Regions from separate parts of the Homo sapiens genome. Here regions 2 and 3 are each linked to region 1. Evidence: promoter capture Hi-C in human tissues and cell types (Jung and others, 2019). All regions are on one chromosome and are shown on one strand. The core of a region is centred on a gene start or on the middle of the fragment in contact, and the rest is flanking DNA. Distances in the headings are between cores, read along the strand shown.

What was found. Contacts are between HindIII fragments. The study calls those that stand out against the background at their distance.
Region 2: a contact is called between the fragment with the promoter of CNOT3 here and the fragment with the promoter of ZNF331 in region 1, in 3 of the 25 tissues and cell types used here (dorsolateral prefrontal cortex, hippocampus and lymphoblastoid cells).
Region 3: the fragment with the promoter of VSTM1 here is called in contact with the fragment with the promoter of ZNF331 in region 1 in 2 of the 25 tissues and cell types used here (lymphoblastoid cells and mesenchymal stem cells).

The regions. Positions count from the first base shown.
Region 1 is chr19:53,535,844-53,540,161 of GRCh38, reverse strand. It overlaps ZNF331 (zinc finger protein 331), which reads right to left and starts at 2,017. Exons shown (of 6, transcript NM_001079906.2): 1 at 1,866-2,017; 2 at 880-946. RefSeq lists enhancers at 1,938-1,987, 1,773-2,289. The HindIII fragment of the contact is 21,395 bases long and covers 1,242-4,318 here.
Region 2 is chr19:54,135,457-54,139,774 of GRCh38, reverse strand. It overlaps CNOT3 (CCR4-NOT transcription complex subunit 3), which reads right to left and starts at 2,013. Exons shown (of 18, transcript NM_014516.4): 1 at 1,782-2,013. The HindIII fragment of the contact is 23,783 bases long and covers 1-4,318 here.
Region 3 is chr19:54,062,647-54,066,964 of GRCh38, reverse strand. It overlaps VSTM1 (V-set and transmembrane domain containing 1), which reads left to right and starts at 3,068. Exons shown (of 9, transcript NM_198481.4): 1 at 3,068-3,221. The coding sequence starts at 3,188. The HindIII fragment of the contact is 40,052 bases long and covers 1-4,318 here.

The DNA of each region.
Region 1 (4,318 bases), core at 768-3,267:
AACACAATAGAGTATGGTACAAAAATGCGCTCAATAAATGTGGCCAGGCTCCTCTCTTTTGAAGGATTCATGAATAATCCTAAATAATATACTAAAATGTCATGTTGGATAAGGTATTTACAAAAATCTTATTCAATGGAATTTGTAGGCAACTGAAGCATTTCCTTCATTTACTATTGTTAATAACTATTAGTAGTGTTTAATATTATGTCAGGTGCATTTTTCTTTCTTACGGTTATAACTAAACTTACTTCTTTGTAGCTGCAGAGTATTCCATGAAATGAACGTGGTATAATTACTTAACCATTTCCACCATCCTGAACAATAATTGTGGTCAAGGTACACAGCCTTCGATTGTAGACCAATGGGTCTAAATGTCTTTGGGGCATGTCCATCCTTCTTAATGCCATGAAATTACAGAGTATCTCCTTAGGGTGGTGGTGGTGGGGGACAGATACACTAACACTGATAATCACATACAGTAAATATACACAGAATGTCCCTTGGAAAGTTGTAAGTGGAGTTAAAGGCAGGCCCTCAGGTTAAGGATAACAGTTCTAGGCCATTTGAGGCTGTGGTTCATTTTGTGAACCTGCAAACACCCATCCCAGTTACCTTCATATGTACGTTGCTCCTGATGTACAGACATCCAGACTTAGCACAAAACAGCAGCACTCACTGTGCACTCCCACTCAGGGGTGCGCGTCTATGGGTTTTATGCGTGTTAATGCATTTCACCCTCCTCACAAGCCTATCTTCAGAAGGCTCAAAAAGCTAAGAGGCAGAAACAGGACTCAAATCTTGGTCATCTACCTTTAATGTTTGGTCTTAAGTCTTATAAACACATATCATTTAATATAAAAAAAAAAGGATACTCACCTGACCCTTTCAGATGTTTAACGATTCGTCTTCCTCCTCGGGGATGCTTTTTCTGAAGGATGCTGGCCTGGGGAAAACAGAACCGGAAGGGTAACACCTGCCATACCTAATAAAACCAATGAGAAATACGAGGCCCCGAGATGGAGTTTCTGGGAGATTCCTGAAGAGCACGCTGTGGCGATTGAGATGATGACGCGTGGAGCTGCCCCCCTCCCTGTCTCCCACATCAGGGACCTGTCCCTCTACAGGAGGAATTCTACTCCTGAGGCCACCGTCCCCTGTCACTCAGGTGGCCTGCATGCACAGCACTTCTGGCTCTGAAAGCGTCACCTCATGGCTGTTTCTGCCTTCTTGCTGGTGAATTTCCAGGCGAGGCTCAGGCGCTCACGTCCCTCCGCGGCCCTTGTTCTCAGGCAGGTACCGCTTGGTTAGGAGGTGAAGGCAGGGGAAGCAGCAGAGACGCTGGAGCTACAAGTTGCACTGTCACACACACCTGCATCACTCAGAAGGCCCGATCATCCATCCCAGCACAGAGACGCTGAAGCTACAGGTTGTGTTGTCACACACACCTGCGTCACCCAGAAGGCCCGATCACCCATCCCAGCACAAGTCTGCACAGCTCAGCCTCACCACAGCTCACTCTGTCCTGAGACACATCTGCGCCCCTCATACCCACTAACGCCCAGCACGGCCATGCTACGGGCCCCACCACCCCACACGGTGCAGAGGTGCATCCGTGGGCCACGGAGACCCGTCCCGACCGCTGCCCCCGCACAACCCCCAGAGCGCACCTCACGGAGCAGAGTCCCAGGGACGCACCGCCGAGGTTCACAGGCACGGGCTGCGTTGACCCAAAGCCTCTGGAGCACCCCCGGTCACCAGTTATGGGGAGAGCCCGGCTGTGTCACCCCACACTCTCCAGCAAGTGCGTCACCGTCAGAAGCCCCGTGCCCGTCTCCCCTCGGAGCCACGCGCACCAATCTCACCTGCGCGGACTGGCGGAGATGCAGCGGCTGCGTCACTGGTGCAAACGCGCACCCAGCACGGCCCCCATCGCCCCCAATGACGCTCGCGTGCACCCGTGTCACAGTTACGGGGACAGGGCCGCCGCGTCAGCCTCGTACTCCCACGCAAGTGCGTCACACACTCGGTCCCGCCACCCCCTGGAGGCCAGCGCGCATGCGCACGCGCACCCAGCGGCCGCAGCGCGCAGACAGCAGCAGAGCCCGACACGCATGTGCACACAGACCCCTACACGTATGTGCACGTACCCAGACCCCGACACGTATGTGAGCGTACACAGACCCCCGATACATAGCGTGCTCAGCTGTTGACGTGCCTGTGCGGGCACACAGACCCTGACGGGCGTGTGCGCACGCACAGATGCCGACACGCATGTGCAGACACAACAGAGCCCGACACACACGTGCGCCTGCACAGATGCTGACACGCGGACACACTGACACGTGTGCGTGCACCCCTCCCATCCCTTTCCCTCCTCCCACTCTCCCAAAGCCGCAGACGCACCCGGTAGTCCCCCAACGCTGGGGCCTCGGGAGAGGGTGAGGCTAGAAGAGGACGCGGGGCCGTCGGGGGAAACCAGAGCCCCAAGCCCCGTGTTCCAGCATGCAGCACGGCGTACTCCTGGATGGTCTCTGGGAAATGTAGTCCGGGACGGTCCCAGGCAGGGGCCTCAGGGCGCGTCCCAGGTCGGTGCCGGAGCGGGCAGCCCCAAGCTAAGCCCTTCCTGGTCCCTGCAGACGCCCCTTCCCGACTGGGAAAGGAGCTGTGTCACCCCAGCTGGGACCCCGTCTGGCCTCTTGAGTGGGGTGATGCCGGGCGAGCCATGGCTGTCCTCAGAAGGGTATCCTCTCCTAGCCCCTCTGGAGCGTCACCTGGAATTCTCTGCAGGCCGCTAGCACAGGCTGCCGGAGCTGCTATTCGGTGTCCCTTGCTTGCTGCATTGTAAACAATGTACAGGTAGCAGTTATGCCCCGTGAGTCCCGCTCTCATTCCAAGTACTAACGTCACAGGGTCTACAGGATGTTGCAGGTACTTAACCACAGTCTCATTTTGACTCAAAATCCCACTTTTTGGTATTTATGCCAAGGAAGTAGCTATAGTTGTACACAATGTTGAAGTATGTTCACAAAATGCTTTTTTTCTGAAAATCTTTTTCTCTTTTAATTAGATAGACTTTAGATTCATATGTAGTTACAAGAAATAAAATTGAGAGATCTTGTGTACCTTTCACCTGGTTACCTCAGCTGGTGATTGTAGTATATAATACCACAACCAGAAGATTAACATTGATGTAATCCACTGACGTTACCCAGAATTTCCAGAGAATAATTTTTTGTTTGTTTGTTTGTTTGTTTTGAGACGGAGTTTCGCTCTTGTTGCCCAGGCTCAAGTGCAATGGTGCGATCTCGGCTCACTGCAACCTCCGCCTCCTGGGTTCAAGGGGTTCTCCTGCGTCAGCCTCCCCAGTAGCTGGGATGACAGGCATGCGCTACCACGCCCGGCTAATTTTTTTTGTATTTTTAGAAGAGACGGGGTTTCTCTATGTTGGTCAGGCTGGACTCGAACTCCCGACCTCAGGTGATCCGCCTGCCTCGGCCTCACAAAGTGCAGGAATTACAGGCGTGAGCCACCACACCCAGTCGAGAATAATTTTTAAAAATGAAAATCTTGCAGTGGAGGATAAAGGAAAATCAGATTAAACCATGGTCTGTTATACAATGACATAGAGTACATTTCCTAATAATACTGACTCATTAATTAAGAAAACTTCTGAAGAATCAACAAGGGAAAAGGGTAGGTTAAAATGGTACATATAATTTGAGCAGACATGTTTTGGTGAAATTAACACAGGCTCTGTGGTCTGATTTGAGGGTGTTAATCTGAGCTCTGATAGTTATTAACTTCACAGTGTGGTAAAGTTTCCTCACTGGTAAAACCACAAGAAAGATAGTACAATGTATGACTGTTTGAACAGGATCATCCACATGAAACACACAGTCATATATAACAATTAAGATAAGGTAGCTGTTATTACTAAAAAATCAGTAACATATCTCAATCCATTTTCATAAAAGTAACAAGTCTGCTATTTCCTTTTAACTAGGGAGACAGAGACATGATAGTTCCTTAAAAAATCTAGTTTAAAGATTCTTATCAGCTAGGTGCAGTGGCTCACACCTGTAATCCCAGCACTTTGGGAAGCCAAGGTGAGCGGATCACTTGAGGTCAGAAGTTCAAGACCAACCTGGGCAACATGGTGAAACCCTGTCTCTACTGAAAATACAAAAATTAGCCGGGCATGGTGGTGAGATTGTAATCTCAGTTTCTCAGGAGGCTGAGTCAGGAGATTCGCTTGAACCTGGGAGGCAGAGGTTGTAGTGAGCCAAGATTGCGCCACTGCACTCCAGCCTGGGTG
Region 2 (4,318 bases), core at 764-3,263, 600 kb before region 1:
AGTGGAGTCTCCCGCTTGAGACTCAGGTATCTTACATCCACACAGCCAGGAAACTATGCCTTACCCCATACAGTGACAAATCAAGAGGGGGTTTTGGAAGCATTAGCCGGGGGCACCTGCATCCGAGAGGGGTCCTCAGCCTTACGGTGGGGACACATGCAGAGGCGTGGACACCTCAAATCCAGAAAAGCAGCCATACCAATACCAAGGATGGCAAGAACCTTATCCCTGGGGGAGGTGACACCAAGAAAGGGTCCTTACCCTGGAGAGAAGGCACAGCCCCAGAGGGAAGAGCCCCCACCTCGCAGTACAGGAACCCGGGTCTAGGAAGCTTCCTACTCTCATGGGGTACCAGCAGCGGGGCCAGAAGGCGAAACCCTTGTTCTCCAACTGCTGACACCCAGCGTAAGGGTAGATGGGAAGTCAACAAACCCACAGTGTGGGATCTGATGCAAATATCAAGGGCAGTGGGCTTCTTGGTCCTTGGAGAGCTGACACCCTAAAGGAGGAGACTGGTGTGAAGATGGAAGAAGCCTCATACTCAGGCAGGGGTGAAGGGAGGGAGGGGAGACATCAAAACCCCTCACCAAAAGGACAGGAGAGCTCACCCCGGGGTGGGTGGCCGCCCTGCACTGAGAGGCAGGGACTGCTCAGAAAGAGGGGCTGGTGCTGCCCGCAGTGGGAGCTCACTAACATGGACAGCGTGGCGGCTTAGTGTCTTTCACCAGGCACCTGAGCGCCAGGGGATCCCAGCAGCCCCCAGCAACAAGACCACAGTGGTCCTGATATCACTGGGAGACGCCCACACCCAGAAGGTCGGAGAGTCACGATGCAGGGGAGTTCAAGGCTGCAAAGCCAGGGGCAGACGCCAGGATCAAAGAAGTGTGAGAGCTGAGACCAGACGTGGGCCACACTGAGGACGGTCCTGTACCCCAGGTGGGGGAAAGCCAAACTCCCCCAAAAAGGCAGGCGCCCAGTGCAGCGGGATGGCGAGGCTGGAGCCACCCAGGGCGCTACTCGCTATGAGAGGGAAGAGCTGCAGACTACAGAGGTGGAAACTTCGGCAAAGGCTCCAACTAACGGGGAGTTTCTCCTCCACTCCTCTCCCAAGAGGCTCCCATCCGATACAGACGGGCAGCTGGAACCTGAGATCCAGGGGAGGCTGCGCTCCCGGGAGCAGTGAGGAGGGATGCGGAGGGCGGCCTCGGTCCTGGGAAGGGTGACTCCCCCACCCAGCTGGGGTCCTCGTCCCGACCACCACCCCCCCTCCCCGCCACCGTCGAGGGAGAAGCCCCGGCGCGGAGGCTGCCCCACAACGCGAAGGACCGAGGCCGAGGGGGGCAGGCACCTGAGCCCCGAGAGGGCGGGCACCTGGGACCAGGGGCGCCTCCATCCTTCCAGCCAGGAGCCAATACCGACGCGGAGAGGGGCGGGCACCTCGCGCCCGGGAGGCTTCGCACCCTCACACCCCTACCGGGGGGCCCGACGCGATGCCACGCGGGGAGGCGGCGGCGGGCGGGGCCCGGGGTCCGGGTCGCGGAAGGACCCCCGGGAGGCGCTGAGGAACGTGAAAGAGGCGCAGGAACGGGAGGGCGAGAGGGAGGGAGCCGCCCCCCGCCGGGAGCCCCGCGCTGCAGAGGCGGCGGCAGGGGGCAGGCGAGGGGAGGCCATGTCGCGACAGACGGCGGTGTCGCCAGGGCGGGAGGCGGCGGGGAGGGCGGCCGATGGCGCCGGGGGGAGGAAGGGAAGGGGTCCGGCCCAGTCGAGCCTGACGCTCTCACCACAGGAGCTGGCGCCGCCGCTGAGGAGCGTATCGCGACAGGCGGGGGAGGCGAGCGCCCGCCGCCTTTTTCTCGCGCCCCGGGCCCGGGCGCTATCGCGATAGCGGCGCGAAGCGGAAGTGGGGTTGGGGGAGTGGGCCCGGGGTTGTTCTGACGACGGGGGTCGGGGCTCAAGGGAGGCCGCGGCGTCTGCCGATGGCTCCGCGGAAGCTGACCGGGCCCGGTCCAAGATGGCGGCGGCGGAGGAGGCCTCCCCTCCTCTCTTCTCGTCTCTGGCGCCGACCCGCCCCCGAGTCCCGAATATAGGCCAGTCATTGCTCCCGCTGAACGTCGCTCCTGACCCTTGGAGGCTTTCTATTGGTTCCTGGCAGGGATGCGCCCTGCCCCCTTTCGCGGATTGGGTGATCGCTCCAAGGCGCGGCGTTCGATTGGCCTCCCGCGCAGGCTGCTAGGATTGGCTCAGGTTTTCCTCCCCGCTCCTCCTCCTCCTCCCGCCTCAGGGCACAACACGCCAGCGCGAGGACCCGAACGTCAATCAAGAGACCTGTGTCGTGCTGATTGGATGTATCCGCCCCCCTCTCTTAAAACAATTGGTCTGGGGGAGGAGCTACGACAGTCCAGGGGCGGGAAGTCGTCCGTCAAGTTTAGAGCTCTTTTTAATTGGTTGCGGGGGCATATTCTGCCTTGAAGTCATTGGTTGGTCCTGGAAGTGGGTGGGGAAAGCGGAGGAAGGCATGGAGTGTGGGCGTTAGGGGCCGCGTACCTAATGGGAGACAGACAGGTGCCTTTAAAGCGGGGGCCGAGCCGAAGTCATCTGCCAATCAAAACAGCCACAGGGCCAAGTGGGAGGAGCTGGGCAAGAAAGTCCACCCCTTTTTCTTCGTTGGCCCTAAAAGTTATCATTCATGCTAGTTGGACCAATAGCGTGGCGAGTGGGCGGTAGCTGCTCGTAGAGCGTGTGAAAGAGGGTGTATGTAGCTGGCAGAAGTGGGACTTGGTCGCAACCGTTGCGTCCCGGCCAGGTAAGCAGCTTCCCTCTCAGCTGCCTCGTCTTTCTCCAAGTGCCTCTATGTTGGCACATCTCTGAAATTCATTATTTGCTGAGTGAAAGAAGAAAGGGACCAGAGACACTGCTTTAAGTCTCTGGCACCGTGCATAGCAGAATTGGTTGGGAAGCGTGAGGCATGGAGTTTTTGTCCTGCCCCTGCCTGGTTAGGCGACCAGATGGTGGGACAGTCATTCTCCTCTGCGTCTCCGCTTCCTTAGTGTGTTGAGGACGCTGCAGAAGGTACAGAGGAGACGGGTGGCTCCCTAATGCCTGCTCGTTTCAGGTCTCAGCTCTGTTGTCTTCTTGGAGAGAAAACTTCCCTGACCTCCCTCCCGGGCGGAGCGCTCCTGCGCGCCTTGTTCGTTAGGATTTATTTTTGTACGTCTACCGTCATTTTCGTAATTATTCGGTTTCCCTGTCTGGATTTTGCATCTCCAGCACTTAGCACGCAGGAAGTAGTCAGTAACCATTTGTCAAAGGAATAGATGAATGAATGTGAGGAATGACTTGTGATTGAAAACTTAACTAGACACTGAGACTTCCACGAACTGGGAGGCATTTGCCCAGGGTCACACAACCGAGATGGGAAGCCAGATTCGCCCCTTCCTGTCTAGGTGGTGGAAAGTAAGATAAATCCCAGGGAGAGGTGAACGTGAAGGAGGATGGAGCCGTTCAGCACCACCCGCATCAGAATGGTCTGAGGCAAGGGGGAGGAGGAATGCTTGCGAAAATGCATATTCGTAGGCCCACACACAGACAACGGGAATGAAGCCTAGAGTTATTGTTCTAGAGCTTTGCTATTCAAACTGTGGCCCCTGGACAAAGTATCGCTTCTCAGACATCTCCGGAATCACCTAGGAATGTGTTAAAATGCAAATTCTGCTTTTCTAACAAGTGCCGCAGTCCACGGTCCGCAGTTCACTTTGCACACCGCGGATCTAGCGATGACTTTCCAACTTGGCTGCACATCAGAGTCACCTGAGGAACTTGTTGTTATTGTTGTTGTTGTTGAGACGAAGACTTGCTCTTGTCCCCCAGGCTGGAGAGCAGTGGCACAATCTAGGCTCACTGCAGCCTCTGCCTCCCGGGGTTCAAGTGATTCTCCCGCCTCAGCCTCCCGAGTAGCTGGGATTACAGGCGCCCGCCACCACGCCCGACTAATTTTTGTATTTTTAGTAGAGACGGGGTTTCACCATGTTGGCCAGGCTGGTGTCGAACTCCTGACCTCAGGTGATCCGCTCGCCTCAGTCTCCCAAAGTGCTGGGATTACAGGCGTGAGCCACTGCGCCTGGCCTACCTGAGGAACTTTAAAAAAAAAAAATTTTTTTTAAATTAGAGGCCAGGCCGGGCCGGGAGAATCACTTGAACCCGGGAGGCAGAGGCTGCAGTGAGCCTAGATTGCGCCATTGCACCTGTAATCCCAGCACTCTCAGAGGCCGAGGTGGGCGGATCACCTGAGGTAGGGAGTTCAAAACCAGCCTGGCCAACA
Region 3 (4,318 bases), core at 1,819-4,318, 530 kb before region 1:
AATTTTTGTGTGTTAGTAGAGACGGGGTTTCACCATGTTGGCGAGGCTGGTCTCGAACTCCTGACCTCAAGTGATCTGCCCACCTTGGCTTCCCAAAGTGCTGGGATTACAGGCATGAGCCACCACGCCCAGCCTGTATTTATAATACATTTCTTTTACATTTTATTTTATATGTTTCCAACATTTTACCCAGTTTGGCAGGAATTCCATTCTATCCATGGCATCCATTTGCTTGTAATTGGTAGCCAGTCTTACTGGTGCAGATGTAAAATGTCAACAGTTGCCAGGTGCTGTGGCTCATGCCTATAATCCCAGCACTCTGGGAGGCCGAGGTGGGCGGATCACAAGGTCAAGAGATCGAGACCATCCTGGCCAATATGGTGAAACCCCATCTCTACTAAAAATACAAAAATTAGCTGGGCGTGGTGGTGCATGCCTGTAATCCCAGCTACTCAGGAGGCTGAGGCAGGAGAATTGCTGGAACCCGGGAGGCAGAGGTTGCAGTGAGCCGAGATCTCACCACTGCACTGCAGCCTGGGCGACAGAGCGAGACTCCGTCTCAAAAAAAAAAAAAAAAAAAAAGTCAACATTTATGTTTTGTTGTTACATTTTGTTTTCAAGATTTGTTGCTGTTTCTTGTTAATAGTCTTATTATTTTTCGTAAATATCATTCTTATTTTATAACTATTGTCTCCTCTGTTATAACTCTGAGGATGTGCTTATCAAAGCAATATTCCTCCTCTTCCTCCACTAACCACAGGTTGGTCCTTCTCTATCCACAGACCACACAGCTGCCAAGGGTAGCATGCGCTAGAGCTGCCGATCCTTAGAGTTTCCTGTGCAGCCAGCATTTCCAGCTGTTTGAGAGCCGCACCAGGACAGGACGATGGCTTTCTTCCCATCCTCCTCACTTAGGACAGGACGGGGTGGGCACAGGGACCCATCCAGCAAGTTATTATTTTTGTAGTTATTAAGATAGAAAGTATAGGCCGGGCATGGTGGCTCACACCTGTAATCCCGCCTCAGCCTCCCAAAGTGCTGGGATTACAGCGGTAAGTCATCATGCCCAGACGATTATTTTTTATTTGTATACGTTTATGGGGTACAAGTGTAACTTTATTGCATGGATAGATTCCAAAATGATGAAGTTAGGGCTTTCAGGTATCCACTAACCCAGTGACACACATTGTATCCATTAGATAATTCTTTTTTTTTGATGGAGTCTTGCTCTGTGACCCAGGCTGGAGTGCAGTGGCGTGATCTCAGCTCACTGCAACCTCCGCCTCCCGGGTTCAAGCGATTCTCCTGCCTCAGCCTCCTGAGTAGCTGGGACTATGGGCGTGTGCCACCACGCCCGGCTAATGTATCCATCATCATAACACACAACCATTTGAATGAATCTCACAGGCATTGTGCTGAGTGAAAAAGGTCACCCTCAGAAGGTGAGGCGATGGACGATTCCATTTATACAAGAGTCTCAAAGTGACAAAGTGATAGAGACGTAGAACAGATTAGCAGGTGCTAGGGTGGGAGAGCGATTATAAAGGGGCAGCATGAGGGAGTTCCTACGTGGTGGTGGGACAGTTCTGTGTCTTGATTGTGGCGGTGGTTCTATAAAGCCATACATACAGGCAATAAAATGTTACAGAACTATACCCATAGGCAAAGAAAAGGGAGGAGGAAAAGAAGGTGGAAGAGGAGGAAGAGCAGGAGAAAAGAAGGAAAAGGAGAAAAGGAAATAGAAATAGAAGGAAGAGGAAGAGAAAAAGAGAAACGAATTATGCACAAACTGGTGAGATCTGAGTGACCTCTGGAACCTGGTTAAACGTGTGATGCCAGTGCAAAGTCTCTGGTTTTGAAAATGTGCCATACGCCGGGCGTGGTGGCTCACGCCTGTAATCCCAGCAGTTTGGGAGGCCGAGGCAGGCGGATCGCCTGAGGTCAGAAGTTCGAGACCAGCCTGGGCAACATGGCAAAACCTCGTTTCTACTAAAAAGAACAAAAAAAATTAGCCAAGAGTGGTGGCGGACACCTGTCATCCCGGCAACTCGGGAGGCTGAGGCAGGAGAATCGCTTGAACCCGGGAGGCAGAGGTTGCAGTGAGCCAAGATTGTGCCACTGCACTCCAGCCTGGCTGACAGAGATTCTGTCTCAAAAAAAAAAAAAAAAAAAAAAAGTACTGTAATTATAAGAGATTACCATTGGCCGGGCACAGTGGCTTATGCCTGTAATCCCAGCACTTTGGGAGGCTGAGGTGGGCGGGTCACTAGAGACCAGGAGTTCAAGACCAGCCTGGCCCACATGGTGAAATCCCATCTCTACAAAAAATTAGCTGGGTGTGGTGGTGCATGCTTGTAATCCCAGCTACTTGGGAGTCTGAGGCAGGAGAATCCTTAAACCCATGAGGCAGAGGTTGCAGTGAGCCGAGATCGCGCCACTGCACTCCAGCCTGGGTGACAGAGCAAGACTCTGTCCCCCCCGCCCCCCAAAAAAAGGTTAACATTGTGGGGAGCTGGCTAGTGGGTACACGGAAGCTATAAAGCTATAGGTATTAATGTTTGTTTGTTTGCTTGTTTGAGACAGTTTCACCGTTGTTGTCCAGGCTGGAGTGCAGTGGCACAATCTTGGCTCACAGCAACCTCCGCCTCCTGGGTTCAAGCCATTCTCCTGTCTCAGCCTCCGGAGTAGCTGGGATTACAGGCATGCGCCACCATGCCTGGCTAATTTTGTATTTTTAGTAGAGACGGGGGTTTCTCCATTTTGGTCAGGCTGGTCTTGAACTCCCGACCTCAGGTGATCCGCCCGCCTCAGCCTCTCAAGGTGCTGGGATTACAGGCGTGAGCCACCGCGTCCGGCCGGTATTAGTGTTTTAAAATAAAAAATTACATTTACAGAAAACTCTTGGCAGAACTTCAGATAAGGTAGGACAGAGCTCGGGCGGGTGGGGCCACACACACCGGATTCATGGGGAAGAAGTTATCATCGACGGCTTCTTGTTTCCTGAGTCGGTTGTGAGAAGGAAACTGCAAGAGTGGGGCAGAGAACCAGAGTGTCAGAGCAAAACCTCCTCTATCTGCACATCCTGGGGACGAACCGGGCAGCCGGAGAGCTGCGGCCGGCCCAGTCCCGCTCCGCCTTTGAAGGGTAAAACCCAAGGCGGGGCCTTGGTTCTGGCAGAAGGGACGCTATGACCGCAGAATTCCTCTCCCTGCTTTGCCTCGGTGAGTCTCCAGGACTGGGACGAATGGGCTTGGGCTGGTGAGAAAAACTCATGTGGGAGTGGCAGTCCAGGTGGAAATGCGGTGTGTGGAAGTAATGACTTCCAGGTGTTGCACACCTGCGGTGGGTGGGTCTGGGCTGTGGGTTCTGTGAGTTCTGCCGCCCACATGCAAGCGAGGAGGAGGCCGCGCTGCAGAGACACGGGGACAGACTCCGCTGGGAAAGGCAGAGCTGCTGTGGGGTCTCCGAGTCTGCAGCCGCTAAATACCGCAGTACTGCCATCATCCTCCGTCGGAATAGAGGAGGGCTGGGCTTAGGGATCTACAGGGTGCAAGGCTGTGGGCAAAAAGACAATTTTCTTCTCTCTCTCTCTTATTTATTTATTTATGTATGTATGCATTTATTTATGAGACAGAGTCTCACTCTGTAGCCCAGGCTGGAGTGCAATGGCGTGATCTGGGCTCACTGCAACCTCCGTCTCCCAGGTTCAAGCGATTCTCCTGCCTCAGCCTCCCGAGTAGGTGGGACTACAGGTGCAGGCCACCACACCCGGCTGACTTTTGTATTTTAAGTAGAGACGGGGTTTCACCATGTTGGTCAGGCTGGTCTCGAGCCCCTGACCTCAGGTGATCCGCCCGCCTCAGCCTCCCAAAGTGCTGGGATTACAGGCGTGAGCCACCACACCTGGCCCCAAGAAGACAATTTTCTGACCAGCTCGATTCTTAGGCTGATTTTAACCATCCTCCAATTGAACCTGATGTATTCAGACAGAGCTCACACTGTGAAACGGATGACCTGGGTTATAATCTCGGCTTTACTACATAGAAACTCTAGGCTTGACCCAGCAGAGCTCCACCTCCCTAAGGCCCCAGTTCCTCCCTGGTGCACGGGGGGTGCGGTGGACATCGACGTGCTTCGTCTGCTTCAGTTCCTTCCTCCTTTTCTGGGTGCAGCCCTTCCTTGTGGGGTAATGCTCGTCTCCTACACACATTTGCACCTTAGATGAGCATTTTTTTTTTTTTTTGACAGAGTCTTGCTTTGTCTCCCAGGCTGGAGTGCAGTGGTGTGATCTCAGCTCACTGCAACCTCCACCTCCTGG